Regions from separate parts of the Homo sapiens genome. Here regions 2, 3, 4 and 5 are each linked to region 1. The links are contacts of gene promoters, found by promoter capture Hi-C in blood cells and fetal thymus (Javierre and others, 2016). All regions are on one chromosome and are shown on one strand. The core of a region is centred on a gene start or on the middle of the fragment in contact, and the rest is flanking DNA. Distances in the headings are between cores, read along the strand shown.

Region 1 (3,261 bases), core at 572-3,071:
CTGCTTAAGTATTTCTCACCCTTTATGGCAAGAGCTGAATCTTAATCATCTTTATATCCCCAAAATCTGTCTCAGTGATAAGCAAAAACTTTGTTCTCTCTTGTATCTTTTAAATTTCCTCGTACATAAAGGTATTGCCAATTACAAAAATTTACTAAATTGTTAAAAAGCAAACAAAGCGACCGGGAGCGGTGGCTCACGCCTGTAATCCCAGAACTTTGGGAGGCCGAGGCGGGTGGATCACGAGATCAGGAGATGGAGACCATCCTGGCTAACATAGTGAAACCCTATCTCTACTAAAAATACAAAAAAAAAATTATCCGGGCGTGGTGGCGGGCGTAGTCCCAGGAGGCGGAGCTTGCAGTGAGCCGAGATCGCGCCACTGCACTCCAGCCTGGGCGACTGAGCAAGACTCCGTCTCAAAAAAAAAAAAGGCAAACAAAGCGTGTGTTGGACTAAAATGATTTCTCTGTTTCTACACTCTATGTCCAGTACTACTTTTCTGACTTTTCTTAGCATTACTCGTAATCAGTCCTTGGACTGCTTCTATCCTTTCTACAGTCATGCATCTTTATAACTCCAACTATGTGTACGGCTCACTAATCAATGTCTACAGTTCTGCCCTTTCAACTGGGCACCAATTTTGAGTTTTCAATTGTTTATCTGAAATTTCCATTCAGATATCTCATTTGAATATGTTCACATCAATCTTCCTGACCCCACTAGCTCCCTGATTCTAATTCCTTGCCATTTTGAACTCTATGTACAAAGCAAAAGAATTTCAAATGGAAAAAGGAATTTCATGAAATGACTCTTTGAAAAGGAAGACGGTGTATGATCAAAATGGTTTTTCCAGAAGAAAACGAGTACAATAAACATCTCTTTCCAGTGGAAAAGATATTACTCTAGGTTTCCTGCTAACTTTGAGAAAATGTACAACATAAAAAATTTCACCCAATTTTCTTTGCCACCGTTTTACTGTGGTGAAAAAAAGCTTACCATTATATTATTACCAGTGGGATTAAGAGGCGGGCATTAGCAACAAATATACCACTAACTTCGGGGTTATTCAATCAAAGAGTCACACAATTTCCAATTATTCACACAGAGAGGCAGCCTGGCCTTTGGATCCAGAATGATTAGCGATACAAACTAGTGCTGACAAAGTTAGCGGCTGCATAATCTTGCCACCTTAATTAACCCCTCAGGATTTCATCTTCTGTAAAACAGAAGGGTGACATCTACCTTGCAGGGCTGTTGTGAAGACGATAAGTATTACATTTAAAACATCTGCTTCTAATTATTATTACTATCGTTATCCTCCCTAAGCCAACCATTCTCACACAGGTGAATAAGTGGAAAGTTGCTAACTGCCCGCACTGTGATCAACAGACAGAAATAAGTCCCTTCCACTGTAAGAGGCAGAAATGTATTGCTTTGACTAAAATCCTTCAGCCCATCGCGGTCCTTCCCTCTGCTCTGTGCTTGGCGGGTCTCCTGCGGGGGGTCGGGGAGGGGTCGGGCTGTTGGAGGAGGTCTGTTCGCAACCTTCGCTCGACTAGAATTGGTACATGCCTGGCCTGGCTACAGGCCCGACGGTAACAGTTAGCTAAGACCGAGTTTGAATTTGTTTTGTTTGGAGCGGATCAGCATCTCCAAGGCAAGAGAACAGACGTGGGAGGGAGGGAGGAAGAGATGGGACCCGGGGATTCTCACCTCCGCCGGCGCGGAAGGAGGGCAGTTGCCCGGCTCGCGGGTGCCTTAACTTCTTTCTGAGGCCCACGCTCAGTTTTCCTCGGCTCTCAGGCCTACCCACTAACTGCCGTGCGCCGCGGCGTATCCCGGCAACGGGGGCGGGATAGCGGAGGCTCCTCATCCTGAGTGACCAATCCTCCGCCTCAGCCCTTGGTTACACACGGAGCTCTCGCGAGAATTGAGGATATGTTTGTTTCTTCACCACGCTTCAGTGCTTTTTGGAAAAAGTGGAAAACAGCGGGGCGGCTGGAAGACAAACATTTTATGTGAACGTTTGGTTTTCTTGATAATCAGAGCAACCTCCGTGTGCCTTACTTGAAGTAACTCTAGCGAGTTTTGCTATGTCCCTAGGTAACCTCACGTCGGCTAACGTTGTTAACAGGTTACATTTGAAGTTAAGTGGTAGGCAGCATTGTGCAATTTTCTAAACTCCTAATTTGTGGTAGTTTTCCTTCCTATTAGGACGGCATAGCGTACACAACGCATCATGAAGTATGGATGCGATTCTGGCACCAACTGTTCCGTTCCTGCTTTCACCAGAAGCTTTGCGTCTTTAAGCTTCCTTTCATTAGAATTTGGATCCAAGTTTGTGGGGAAGACTGTGAATTCAATGGAAAGTGTCCTTTTTTTTTTTTTTTTTAATTTAAGAACTACTTCACCTTAAATCCCACTTCTCTAATAAAATAACTTTTACTGTATGTTTCCTTCCAATCTTCATTGATAACAGCTTAAATGTGATTGCATATGTATTGGGATTTTAACATTATTTTACACATTATTTCCAACTTGCCTGCCTTCGAGGAGTTAAAAATCAATACAACACAAAATGAGATAATGTTATGTGGCTGAATTCTCCCTTAGTTTGTGAAACATTTTCATGTAATTATCTCATTTGAGCTCACCCTATTTGCAGTGGCCATTTGTCATCCTTTTGGCAGAGTTTCTCCCTTACCCTGCCCCCCAACACCCTTACAGGAACTGAAAGTGACAGATACTGGCTTTCCTAGTCTTCCTTATTACTGGGACATGAGTATTATTGCTTGCTAGACTCTCCAATCTAATTTGGTGGACTCAACTCAAACTTGAATGACAACCAGAAGCAGGACTTCAGAGAGTCTGTTGAAGTAAGGGTGACAGCCGCAGTAACTACATCGTTTCCGAGACTGCAATGTTCTATCACCAGCAACCAGTGTCCAGCATCAGTGTGTTGTTGCAAGCTGCAGTGTTAGGTACTCAGAGGCTTTATTGGGAGGAGAACCTCTAGCTTGTTTCTTCAGCTTCTGGGAGAGTCTGTGAGCTGCTTAATGTCCTTTAATAAATTCATTTTCAGCTTTTATATCATTTATAGATGATTTCTGTTCCTTGCACTTAAGGACCCTGACAGATATTAACAGTTGAAATTGGCAGGACAGATACTATTATCCAAGTTTTAAAGAGATTAAATAATTTGCTTAAGCTCATTTAGGTAGTAAGTATTGATCCCTGTCCCCATTTCTTTTTCATGAT
Region 2 (3,261 bases), core at 392-2,891, 600 kb before region 1:
GCTGTAGGTCAAATATTATTAGAATCAGATTTCTAAATCCCACCCAATGACCTGCTTATTTTAAATCAAATTCAATAATTAATTCTCTTCTTTTTGGAGGATCTGGACATTCTTTGATATTTCTTACAACGAATTTCATGTGTAGACCCACTAAACAGAAGCTATAAAAGTTGCATGGTCAAATAAGTCTGAGAAAGTCTGCAGATGATATAATTCACCTGAAGAGTCACAGTATGTAGCCAAATGTTAAAGGTTTTGAGATGCCATACAGTAAATTTACCAAGCATTTTCTAAATTTATTTGACCACAGAATCCCTATTTTAAGCAACAACTGTTACATCCCATGGATTCCAGGTGACTAAAGAATACTTATTTCTTAGGATATGTTTTATTGATAATAACAATTAAAATTTCAGATATCTTTCATAAGCAAATCAGTGGTCTTTTTACTTCATGTTTTAATGCTAAAATATTTTCTTTTATAGATAGTCAGAACATTATGCCTTTTTCTGACTCCAGCAGAGAGAAAATGCTCCAGGTTATGTGAAGCAGAATCATCATTTAAATATGAGTCAGGGCTCTTTGTACAAGGCCTGCTAAAGGTATAGTTTCTAGTTATCACAAGTGAAACCACTTTTCTAAAATCATTTTTGAGACTCTTTATAGACAAATCTTAAATATTAGCATTTAATGTATCTCATATTGACATGCCCAGAGACTGACTTCCTTTACACAGTTCTGCACATAGACTATATGTCTTATGGATTTATAGTTAGTATCATCAGTGAAACACCATAGAATACCCTTTGTGTTCCAGGTGGGTCCCTGTTCCTACATGTCTAGCCTCAGGACTTTTTTTTTTTTAACACATGCTTAAATCAGGTTGCACATCAAAAATAAGATCATTTCTTTTTAACTAAATAGATTTGAATTTTATTGAAAAAAAATTTTAAACATCTTTAAGAAGCTTATAGGATTTAAGCAATTCCTATGTATGTGTACTAAAATATATATATTTCTATATATAATATATATTAGAAAAAAATTGTATTTTTCTTTTATTTGAGTCTACTGTCAAGGAGCAAAACAGAGAAATGTAAATTAGCAATTATTTATAATACTTAAAGGGAAGAAAGTTGTTCACCTTGTTGAATCTATTATTGTTATTTCAATTATAGTCCCAAGACGTGAAGAAATAGCTTTCCTAATGGTTATGTGATTGTCTCATAGTGACTACTTTCTTGAGGATGTAGCCACGGCAAAATGAAATAAAAAAATTTAAAAATTGTTGCAAATACAAGTTATATTAGGCTTTTGTGCATTTTCAATAATGTGCTGCTATGAACTCAGAATGATAGTATTTAAATATAGAAACTAGTTAAAGGAAACGTAGTTTCTATTTGAGTTATACATATCTGTAAATTAGAACTTCTCCTGTTAAAGGCATAATAAAGTGCTTAATACTTTTGTTTCCTCAGCACCCTCTCATTTAATTATATAATTTTAGTTCTGAAAGGGACCTATACCAGATGCCTAGAGGAAATTTCAAAACTATGATCTAATGAAAAAATATTTAATAGTTCTCCATGCAAATACAAATCATATAGTTTTCCAGAAAATACCTTTGACATTATACAAAGATGATTATCACAGCATTATAATAGTAAAAAAATGGAAATAGCCTCTTTCTTCTGTTCTGTTCATAGCACAGTGCCTCATACGCAGTAGGTTATTATTACATGGTAACTGGCTACCCCAACTGATTAGGAAAGAAGTAAATTTGTTTTATAAAAATACATACTCATTGAGGTGCATAGAATAATTAAGAAATTAAAAGACACTTGTAATTTTGAATCCAGTGAATACCCACTGTTAATATTTGGTATATCTCTTTCTAGTCTTTTTTTCCCTTTTGCATGTATTTTCTTTAAGACTCCCACCCCCACTGGATCATCTCTGCATGTTCTAATCTGCTTTTTTCACAGCAGATTCTAAGCCTCTTTGAATATCAACACAAACTTCAACAACTTCATCTATAGATGCCAAATAATAAATTCATTTTTATTTACTTAACCACTTCCTTTGGATGCTTAGGTCATTCTGATGTTTTGCTATTGAAACCAATGCTATACTGAACACTTCTGTCACTAAAACTTTGCACACACTCATGAATAGCTTCTTAGGATAAATTTTTAGAGATGGATTTGCTAAATCAGAGACCATTTTTTAAAATTAAAAAACAATTATTCATATCGTTTGGCATGTAAGACAGTAAATTTTCCTTTTATTTTGACAGGATTCAACTGGAAGCTTTGTGCTGCCTTTCCGGCAAGTCATGTATGCTCCATATCCCACCACACACATAGATGTGGATGTCAATACTGTGAAGCAGATGCCACCCTGTCATGAACATATTTATAATCAGCGTAGATACATGAGATCCGAGCTGACAGCCTTCTGGAGAGCCACTTCAGAAGAAGACATGGCTCAGGATACGATCATCTACACTGACGAAAGCTTTACTCCTGATTTGTACGTAATGCTCTGCCTGCTGGTACTGTAGTCAAGCAATATGAAATTGTGTCTTTTACGAATAAAAACAAAACAGAAGTTGCATTTAAAAAGAAAGAAATATTACCAGCAGAATTATGCTTGAAGAAACATTTAATCAAGCATTTTTTTCTTAAATGTTCTTCTTTTTCCATACAATTGTGTTTACCCTAAAATAGGTAAGATTAACCCTTAAAGTAAATATTTAACTATTTGTTTAATAAATATATATTGAGCTCCTAGGCACTGTTCTAGGTACCGGGCTTAATAGTGGCCAACCAGACAGCCCCAGCCCCAGCCCCTACATTGTGTATAGTCTATTATGTAACAGTTATTGAATGGACTTATTAACAAAACCAAAGAAGTAATTCTAAGTCTTTTTTTTCTTGACATATGAATATAAAATACAGCAAAACTGTTAAAATATATTAATGGAACATTTTTTTACTTTGCATTTTATATTGTTATTCACTTCTTATTTTTTTTTAAAAAAAAAAGCCTGAACAGTAAATTCAAAAGGAAAAGTAATGATAATTAATTGTTGAGCATGGACCCAACTTGAAAAAAAAAATGATGATGATAAATCTATAATCCTAAAACCCTAAGTAAACACTTAAAAGATGTTCTGAAATCAGGAAAAGAATTATAGTATACTTTTGTGTTTCTCTTTTATCAGTTGAAAAAAGGCACAGTAGCTCATGCCTGTAAGAA
Region 3 (3,261 bases), core at 288-2,787, 570 kb before region 1:
GATTGCCCCTTCCCACCTTCAGACCCCTGCTGGGAGGGTAAAGCGCCGACCCCTGGTGCCTGGCAAGTACCAGAGACTCTAAATCTCTCGGGATCCCCCCCCTCGCGCTCTTTCCTGACCCTCTCCCCTAACCCTCCCCACAGAGATCTCTCTACGCAGCCGACTGAGATCGTGGCGAATGGCCTTTTGTTTCTCCGCGTTTCCCCTATTGTTTGCCTTTCCAACATCTGGCGGGGCTTGGGGAGAGAAGGAAGCCCCTCTGGTCCCCCTCCCCGGCCCCCACGCCAGCTCCGGCAGGGGATCCCAGCTGGGAAAGTGGAGGAGCCCGACCCCAGCGAGGCCGCCCCACCCCGCCCTTGTGGTTAGAGGGCGGAGGGAAAGTTGTTCCTTCCCCGCCTCCGCTGCTGCCTGTGGCCCAGGGCGCATTTCTCAGATCTCAGCCCAGGCGCGCCGCAAAGGCTCAAATCCGAGAAGGTGCTGCTTTCGAGACAGTGGAAGCGCGTTCCGCCCCAATCCAGAGCGTCCAGTGGTTGGTTCCAGAGGATTTCAATCTCTAGCCAAAGGCGTTGGGGCTGGGCCGCTGCTAGGGCAGTGGGAGGGGATCGGGGCACCTTTGGTAGGCGGAAAGCTGAGATTCTGGGGTCCACAAGTTTCCAAGGGCGGGAGGGCAGGCTAGTCGCCAAAAAGAGAACGAAGATGCAAATAACGAGGAAGCCTTATGACGTTGCCTGGAAATAGTAGTGTGGTGGTTCACTCCGGAATGAACGTGGAGTTCTGGCTTTGAGTACCGCTCCAAGTTTAAATCCCAAGTCCCCTTTCTTCATTGTAGAAAAAGAGGACTCAGACGACGCAACACAGATACGGCTAGAGCACAGTTCCTGCTTCCACGTCCCAGAGAACAAGTGGCTTAGGATGGTCCCGAGTTCCCCTGTGGGTGCGCTTGTTGGGTTGCAGGCGGCCCTGTTTCCCTGCACAAGTCAGATGCTTACACATTGTGTTCATTCTTAGTGTGGATTATTGATTAAAGAACTGGGGCAAAAGCAAAGTAGCTACTCTGAGAAGTCAGGGTCCCCAGATGGTGCCCAGCGAGTTGTCTTGCCTCTGAGGGGAGGCTGACTGAGACTGTGCACCTGTTAGAACCTATGCTACCCCATAGCCTTGCAGTTGACTTGCTGTTGCCAGCTTTTCCTGTGGGATCCCCAATGAGTCCCTCTTCCAAGGAAGCTCAATTACACTTTTGATTCCTCCTCAACCCAGGGGAAGAAAGAGGCTTCTGTAGGAACATTATGATCTATGTACCCACTCAGACATTGTCAGTGGATACCAGAAGCTTGGCTCTGCACAGCTCTGAGAGTTTTCCCTTTGCGAACTCAACAGAACTTTTGAGTTTCCATTTAACATAAAAGAAGTGAGACTGCTAAGCCAGGAATGCGACACATAGAGCACTTTCTCTAGTGATTTCTGGGTATTATATCTCTTTACCTTCCCAACGGTGGAACCAGGAAAAGAAAAAAAAGCAACATCTTTGAAGTACTGCAAGGCACTTTACAAACATTTCATTATGAAAATGATCCCCAAGGAAGGATTCCTTTGAAATTTAGCAGCAGCAACCCAGAAGCAACAAAAAAGACCAAAGTTACTCAAGAAGTACCCAAAGGCATCATTAACAAAATAAAAGAGCATTTCTTGTCTTGGCCTACCCCGCTAAGGAAAACAGGGTAATTATAGTGGAAGTTAAGCTTGTACAGTTTCTTTTAGAATTAAAAATCTTCCCAAAAAAATCACTATAGGAAAAAATAGAAAATATCGAATGGTGAAAATGAATGTAAAAGGGGGAGATATCATAAACCTATTTCCTTGGAATAAATTTCGGAAGACGTGATACCTAGGTCACAGGGGCTGATGCGTTCTTTAGGATATTGAAGATTGCCATATTTCCCTGTAGAAAACATGTCCCAGTTTACTTTCCTCCCAGTAATGCACAAAGGCTCCTATACCTTACACTCCACTCACATTTTATATTGTCATTCTTTTTCTTTTCTGTCATACTGATGGGAGTATCTTGTCATCTTATTTTGCATTTAAAAATCAAGTTAGATTAAACATTTTTCACATTGTCTGTAGTATTTCTTCCTTTGTGATGATGTCAGTTTGTGCCCTTGCCTTTTTTCCAGTGGAGATGTTATCCTTTTTCTTTTGATTAGATGTGATCTTTAAAAAAGCATACTGTTCTGACTTCTACCCCTGCCACACATTCAGAAAATGTATATTAACTGAAAGCTCAGCTCGGCTTTCTCAGCCATTCTCTTTCCTCCAGGATAGCAAACACTTGGCAGGACTGCAACCATAAATGACTAAAGTAATTGACCTCATTCCAGTAAAGTTATTAGAGAGAACAGGCAAAGACTTTATTAGAGAAAGTCATGAAAAATAGCAAGTATATATTTTATGCTCAGTAGCTTGCATGTCCTAACTCCTTTACAAGCTTGTAGTACTATTTTTAATCTGGAACAACTCTGCTGATAGTTATTTTTACTAAATGGTTTGCACTAACTCATTTTATTGTCTGATCCTTCTGCTGATAGCCTGCATATACCATGATCCACAATTTGTTCTTGTTCTTTTAAACATCTCTTCTAACTTCTTGGCTGAAATTTGCCTCACTTTTATCATAAGACTTTCTTTGGCTATAACATTTGGGCCCTGCGCTTGGAATAATCTTGAATCTGAACAGTTTGGCAGCATGCTGTTAGTGGCATGAGCAGGAAATGGCTTCCAAGGGCAGAACCAGGTACATTTCAGATATATTTCACCCTTTTTTGGTGCATTTGCGTAGCCACAATCTCTGTTAATTCTTGCTTGAAGGTAGATGATTCTGAAATGGGGTAGATAGAGGTGCGAGAGGAAGAGAAAATCCATGTCAGCTAGGTGGTGAATTAATATAGATGAAGGGCCGTGCTAGAAAAGTAAATAATCTAGGTAGTCTGGCTGCAAAGTAACTTTTAAAAAGATAAAAGATATTAAAGTATTATGTATTATTGGAATAGCTAGTTAAATTAACTCACAGAATGTAGTCTTCTAACTAGGAAAATCTAATGTAAAATTGTTCCATATTATGACTCTGGACATTTTATTTCAGGCACATGAAAAACAGTAAAAGACAGATTCTGTACCATACTTTTCCACAGCATTTTCCATGCCTTTAGATGTAGGAATCAAACAATATACATCAGGAATGAAGAGTGTGCTACATTAGAATCA
Region 4 (3,261 bases), core at 404-2,903, 540 kb before region 1:
TTCCATGAGTTTTAAATAAGAACCTGAGATCATTTTACTGGGACTATTATAGAAGTAATTTGTTTACGTGATGACTCTGTTCATGAACCTAATAAGCTTGCTTTCTTGGTCATTTTTTAGAGAAGGTTTTTATTTGATTGTTGAATCATAAAGAGACAGGACTCTTGCATTCCAGCTTCATCCTCTGGCTTTTCTGTGATTTTTCCTTGTTCCTCAGTCTCTTCATACATAAAAGAAATACATCAGCAGTGGCTCTGAGATGCAAAAATAAATATAATTGTCAATATTTAAATTGTAAAACTTTAGTAGATTATTCTTATTTTAATTAAAGGAGGAAAATAGACCCAAAATGATTTTAGGAGCTGATTCAGATAAATTGGTCAGGTGGTTTAGAATTTAAATTCATGGTTCTTTTCTACTGAATTTATTGGATAATAATTTATGCATATACAGATAAATTTGGTGCACTTTAAAATGTGCTTAAAAAATCTTGTGTTAAGATCCTCTTCTTCCTGAATCAGAGGTCCACAGGCCTATTTTGGCCCACAGAGATGTTTTGTTTGCTCATAGAAAGTGTTGATTTTTCTTTTAAGTTATCAACCTATAAAAATACAGATTTCACCTAAAAAATAGATTTCCAATTACGCTTAAAGAATCATAAGATCCAGCAATGTCAGGTCTTTATCTCTACATAGCAACTGCTGCTAGTACTGAATAACTTTCCCCTTTCAATGGTGCATGTGCCTCAGCACCAACAGTCTCTGGGATGAGACCCCAGTACTACAAATCAGGGTTTTCTCTGTTGACCTAGATGAGAACATTCTGACATTGAGAATAAACAGTTTAAGCATCATTATTAAGTGGTATTTGAATTCAGAGATTAGGCACATGAACAAAACCTAGGGTACTGCTACCTTGAACTTCTTTTAGTAAGAAGCAAGTTCTTCTAACTTTCCTCTACTTTCTTTTAAGTTTGTCCAAAGGTGCATTTGCAAAGGGATTACAAAGACCATGGCAGAACCAGCCCACCCCTCCCTAACACACACATCACACGCTTATTCCACCAGCTCCTCTAATTAAAGGTCTCGCACAGCTCATACGACTCCCAAAGCCAATTAAACAATGCTCACCCTTGTACCTCACAGTAGGTTGGGGAGTAGCTTGGAAAACGCTGTGATTGATATGAAAAGTAGTAACGTATTTTTAAGCACTTTTAGCACTGTTGTTACTCTATGAGGCACAAGCTTTCAACATAGTGGCCTTTTATTTTCTGCGCTTTTGGAGTGTGAGAACACCATAGAGGCTACACGCACCACGGCGTTTCTGTGGGCTGGGAATCAAGGCCTGGAGAAGGGGGTGGGCAGCCGGGAAGTGACAGTGCAGGGAGGGGGAGTTGGCAGCTGTCAAATGAATGCATTTCCCTCTTCTATTATCCTGCTATCCGAATGCTCCATCTATTCATATTCATGGTTTCCATCACTGTGCATAGCACCAAGGCCAGCTTCCTTTTCACATTTCATCTTCTTGTCTTTCTTGGAGTTTCATTTTGATTTACTAAAAATCAGTGGACTGCTTCTAAACAAGGATCAGCTAATAGAAACTGGAGGTAGTTGGTAGAGAATCTACTGGGAGGAATTTATTTACATACAAGAAGTTAAAGCCAAATGTATGTGGTAAGTTAACTTTTTGTTCATCCATTGTTAATTTCATTAATTTCCTACTAATCTAGTGATTAATTCCCCATGTAGGAAGACTATATTCACATTGCTAAGAGAAAGGAATAAGTAAAACATTTTATATTTTAATTACAAAGTAATATATATTTAATTTAGAACATATAAAACTACAAAAATTTAGGAAAGTACAGAAAAGAAATTAAAATCACCTGAAACTAGACATAATTATTAGTAAGTTCTGAGTTTATTTCTTTACAGTCAAATATGTATATATATTTTTTAGGAAATTGTGATAATTCTAGAAATTATTCTCATTGTCTTCTTATATTTGTATAATACTAAATCATAAATATTTTAATATCCTTAAATATTTTATTAAAGCTTTTCATATGTCTATATAGAATTCTATAGTATGGATACTCCATGATTTTTGGGAAGTTAGGTTTTTCTGAATTTAAATATTAAACAATGTTGTGATAAAGACATTCACAAGCTTTCACATCCAAGCTTTGTGGAAATCTATGCTTTTTCCTTAGGAAAATTTCCCAGAAGTGATTTGTGAGTCAAAAGGTAGTTGGCCTTTAAAGTAACCTCCACAAAGTTTGTAGGAATTGAAGCTCTCTGATGTATAAGAGCCCCAAACAGGGAGCTTTTCTAAGAATATCTTTCTGGGAAGCTACTCAGAATATTCTTTGACTGCTTTTGTCTAGATATTTTTACTCTATGAAGAAGACTAATCACTTGCTGGAGTTTCTTGGAATATAGGAAGAGGAGAATGGAATGCTGCCAACTTTGAAAATGTTTGGGAAAAGTGTGGGCCATATTAACCATCGTTTTAATTAACATTTGTTTTAGATCAAGAATGGAAAACCAACTCTTCTGGAGGAAAACATAAATGTCTGCTGGGGAACATGTATTTGCTTTGGGAACCCTTGGGACCAAGAAAATAAAATGCTTAATAACAACAGCATAATGAGGCTGTAGGAGTGCTGAAAGCATTAATTAATGAACAATTTTAAAGTTCTTCAGAAGCCCAGGGAGAGTTTAGAGTGGATGGATTCCTTTACTGACAAAGACTAATATGTTGGACTGCTTAGGCTGACTTGATTAAACCAGAGCTAAATTTTAAAACACACCTAATTACAGTTTCCCTATTTTAAATGGAATGCCTCATATTTATTGGAGTCCTATTATTCTATTGAGATGAACCACGGTTAACCACATCCATATTTTTTAATATTTAGGCTGTAGAACTAAACTTTTACATGTACCTGGAGAAGTTTAGAAGTTGACATTATACTGTCCTTACATGTGACGTCCCACTTTGCAACAAAAGAGCCATAGGAAGGCAGGCCCTGAACTGACCAATCGAATAACCTGAGAGTCTGATCAGAAGAATGCATGCTATGTAAATAGATCACGTTTGGGCAAGTGCTTCCTATTGCTGTCCATTGAAACTTAACACTTTCAGTGGTCCTTCTGAGTTTAACAGGTTTCTATCTCCTGGCAATAAAACCAGACTTTGCTATAGTGGTTTACTTGGCAAACTTAATCTCCACTTGTTCCTGCAGTAGGATTAAGCATG
Region 5 (3,261 bases), core at 547-3,046, 520 kb before region 1:
TCTTTCCTGGGCACCGTGAAGGCCAGGATCCTGCCTCCTGCCTGTGCCCTCCTGTGAGCCTGGTGCTCTAGGAGCGTGGCTCTCCAAACAGGGAGTGACTCCTCTGTGTCCCAGCACGACCCCACCCTCCCCCTTTGCCTCCCTCAGACACTGGGCAGATTGTACTCACATTTCACAAGATTACTCCGCTAGATGAGAAAAACGTGTACTTTATTCAGGACAGCGAGCTCAGCTCTCTGGATTGCATTCCTTGCAGAAATGAGAATCCAAGTGTAGTGGCCTTTCAAAGCTGAAATAAATCAGGGCTCCTTGGCCATACTACCCTTGTCTGTCAGTTTTTGTCTTTTTCTAGAAGCCATGCAAGGTTAGGGAAAATTAAGGGAGAGCAAATGAGGACCAGTTCATTGTGTAATCACTTAAAATCTCTGAGTTGGAATAGCTATCTGTGATTTAAAACATAAATGTTTGCAAATGGTTTGTATCTTGATCAGTTATGTAAAGACGTGCATTTGAGATGCACCAAAGTGACTTTTAGATGCTTCTTTTTAAAAATGACAGTCTTAACTTGTGTTTGCGGAACTCTGTATTTTTCAGTTTTCACCTACGTTAAGCCTTTCAATTTTTTTGTTGACTAAAGTTGGTAGAAGAAATGATTATCAGAGTTTTTATGGAATCCTCCACCACCTTTTTCCAAAAGGAATTAGAATCATCTGGTGCTTATATAAAATCAAACACTGTTTAAACTCAGGGAGCTCTTTTTTTTTTTTTTTTTTTTTTTTTTTAGAATAAAGTGCAGTTTAAAGAGAATAGAGTGGGAGCTTTTACCAGATACCTGTTTTGGTCTCTTGCTGGGCTGATACTATTTTCCTAGGAATGGTGACTGTGTGTTTCTGTTTTTCCTCTTCAGATTTCTTAGACCAAATAGAGGAAATCCACTGGAGGCTTACCTAACAAGACGTATTGATGAATGTAGAATCTTAAATGAAAAAGAAGTCAGTGGATGTGGCTTCCTGTACTGTCAGCTTGGACCAAAAATAAAGCGAGCCCTCGCCGCAGGGGTTTGGCTCAGCCCTGCGCCTGTGGCAGATGTTGTTTTCCATGGCTTTGCTTGAGGAGTACACTTCTCTGGGCAAAAGTTCCTGAGGCCTTTGGAGACTTTTAAAGCCTTTTTTTTTTCTGTAGCTTTTATTGTTTTTAAGAAAAGTGGTGTCACCCTTACTTGTCATTAAAAAAAAAATAGTGTGGGAAAAACAAATAAACTACCCAAAGAATAAAACAAGAAAAACCAAAACAACTCCCCTAAATGAATGAAAAAATTTACACCCTTCACTCTTTTGCAAGATAACTATTTCCATGCAAGTTGGATTAGAAACTATGAGAAGATTTTTCTCTTTGATTTTTGGTTTCTTCTATTTTTAACATTTTTGACAAGTCTACACATTGTGGTTACATAAAAACATCAGGATTAAGATATTTGGTATTTAAAAAGCACCCTTGGACTCGGGATGATTCTTTCTGGCCTACAGTGTGCCAGACCCGCTGCTAACCTCTCTTCACCTACTGTCTTAGTTGATCACCACAATCCTGCAAGGTATAACCCACTAAGAGTGTTTTAGGAGAGAGGGAACGTAGCAGCCTGTGGGATCTGCTTTTCAGGAGTTCCCTATCCAGAAGGAGGGAGACATATGTATATGAGTAAGTTCAAGAAAGCATGATGTTAGTGATAAGAATTAAAGCTAATGCATATTACAAACTTACCTTGCGCTTGCTGCTATATCAAATGCTTTATTTGGATAATGTAATTTAACTCTCATGGCAGCCCTTTGAGATGGATATTTTATCTCCATTTTACAGAAATGGAAGAAGAGGAAGCTAACGTTGAGCAATGTGATATAGTAAGCTCCAGAGCCCACACTCTAGAAATGGTAGATTTGGGAGTCAAAATCGGGCAGTCTGATCTCAGATCCATTTACTTAACGACCAGTCTATACAACACAGTGACCAAGAGCCACAAAGCGCAGGGGTGGTTCATTGAACTAGCCTCTCCACAGGTGGTGTAGACCAGTAGGGGCAGGGCCATGTTGTATATTCCCAATAATGATTCAGGTTAATTCTCCTTTCCCCCAAGGACTTTTTCTGCCATTCTTACTGCTGGAAATACAACTCTTCAGATGACCACTTTTGTCTCCTGCCTATTCGCCTCAGGAAATGACTTTTGGCCCATGGACCACTGGATATGCCAGGCCAGGCATGTCAGACTCCCTGGCTCAGGGAGCTCTTAAATCCTGGAGAGCAGCAGAGTCCACACATCCACTGGTGAGGGGTGGGATGCTAGAGTCTGCATTTTAAACTTGCACCCCAGGTGCAAGTGATCTTGGTCTTTCTGCCATTTCCGAGTGTCCCCAGGAAACCCAGAGGGAACTTACTAGTTAGTCCGTGGACAGATGGTTCAGGGTGAGAAGGGGTTGTATTTTTTCCTTCAGCAGCCACCACCTTCTACCAGAGCCGCCAGAGCTCAAAAGGGGAAAAGTGAAAGAGAAAAAAACAAACAAACAAAAGATAAAAGGCCAGGGGGAGGCAGTGCTGGGGGAAGAGTATAGAACTCAATAAGAACAAGTCAAACCCATAAATATTTGCTGAGAAAAGCAAGGGTTCCAAATGAGTGCGGCAGGGATGGCAGAAACAAAGCCAGATTAGGGAAGGGTCAGGAGAGAAGGGGAAGGGGTAGGCTGAACCTCCACCAGAGGTGGCAGCTTGTGTTTGAAGCCTGCTTTGATGGGCCCACAGGGCTAACAGATGGGTGGGTGGGCCCTGATTATAGATGGGCCAGAAGTTGGGGGTGAGCTGTGAGAATAACCAACAAATCGGACTGTTTAGATACAAAGGAAGGGCTACAGATTCAGAGCTTTGGAGCAAAGGAGAGACAAGAGTCACTTCCTAACAGCACTGTAGGGAGAAGTCGCCTGGAGGCTGGAGGATTATGGCAGGCGGAAGGCAAAAGAAAGGGCAGGGGCAGGGATTTAGCCACTGACAAGTGCAGTCAGCATTAGGGGTCTGGGGAGTTGTCCGATTGATCAAGCGAAACCTGAAAGTTCTCAGAGGTGTTTCAGTGGCTGTTGAGAGGAGTAGACACCCTGCTTCAGCTGCAGAAGAGATAAATAATTTTTATTTATTTTTATAAAATTGAGGGCCTGCATAAAACTTCATTTGGAGGAACAAAGGAGCTATGTTGCTTTAAAAGGCTTAAAAATCACCAGGAAT

The links. Contacts are between HindIII fragments. The CHiCAGO score rates a contact against its expected background, and 5 or more counts as called.
Region 2: a contact is called between a fragment that was not itself captured here and the fragment with the promoter of IFT74 in region 1, in 7 of 17 cell types (activated CD4 T cells, total B cells, non-activated CD4 T cells and 4 more). The highest score is 10.2, in activated CD4 T cells.
Region 3: a fragment that was not itself captured here is called in contact with the fragment with the promoter of IFT74 in region 1 in 12 of 17 cell types (activated CD4 T cells, total B cells, total CD4 T cells and 9 more); the score reaches 11.4 in activated CD4 T cells.
Region 4: a contact is called between a fragment that was not itself captured here and the fragment with the promoter of IFT74 in region 1, in 1 of 17 cell types (total B cells). The highest score is 7.3, in total B cells.
Region 5: a fragment that was not itself captured here is called in contact with the fragment with the promoter of IFT74 in region 1 in 3 of 17 cell types (total B cells, naive B cells and erythroblasts); the score reaches 6.2 in total B cells.

The regions. Positions count from the first base shown.
Region 1 is chr9:26,954,972-26,958,232 of GRCh38, reverse strand. IFT74 (intraflagellar transport 74) reads right to left here and starts at 1,821. Exons shown (of 20, transcript NM_025103.4): 1 at 1,717-1,821. It overlaps IFT74-AS1 (IFT74 antisense RNA 1), which reads left to right and starts at 1,926. Exons shown (of 2, transcript NR_121605.1): 1 at 1,926-2,106; 2 at 2,218-2,453. RefSeq lists a silencer at 248-542 and enhancers at 1,139-1,873, 1,874-2,609. The HindIII fragment of the contact is 1,304 bases long and covers 997-2,300 here.
Region 2 is chr9:27,555,832-27,559,092 of GRCh38, reverse strand. C9orf72 (C9orf72-SMCR8 complex subunit) reads left to right here. Exons shown (of 11, transcript NM_018325.5): 7 at 486-602; 8 at 2,297-2,532. Among named protein-coding and RNA genes, the nearest start is that of C9orf72, 16 kb to the left of the region's middle. The HindIII fragment of the contact is 1,343 bases long and covers 970-2,312 here.
Region 3 is chr9:27,525,621-27,528,881 of GRCh38, reverse strand. All of the region lies in intron 1 of MOB3B (MOB kinase activator 3B), which reads left to right. It overlaps IFNK (interferon kappa), which reads right to left. Exons shown (of 2, transcript NM_020124.3): 2 at 2,384-2,875. It overlaps LOC124902107 (dapper homolog 3-like), which reads right to left and starts at 426. Exons shown (of 2, transcript XM_047424279.1): 1 at 156-426. The coding sequence starts at 426. RefSeq lists a silencer at 291-340. The HindIII fragment of the contact is 409 bases long and covers 1,333-1,741 here.
Region 4 is chr9:27,496,200-27,499,460 of GRCh38, reverse strand. The region is part of intron 1 of MOB3B (MOB kinase activator 3B); the gene reads left to right. Among named protein-coding and RNA genes, the nearest start is that of IFNK, 26 kb to the left of the region's middle. The HindIII fragment of the contact is 813 bases long and covers 1,247-2,059 here.
Region 5 is chr9:27,470,200-27,473,460 of GRCh38, reverse strand. All of the region lies in intron 1 of MOB3B (MOB kinase activator 3B), which reads left to right. Among named protein-coding and RNA genes, the nearest start is that of IFNK, 52 kb to the left of the region's middle. The HindIII fragment of the contact is 4,612 bases long and covers 1-3,261 here.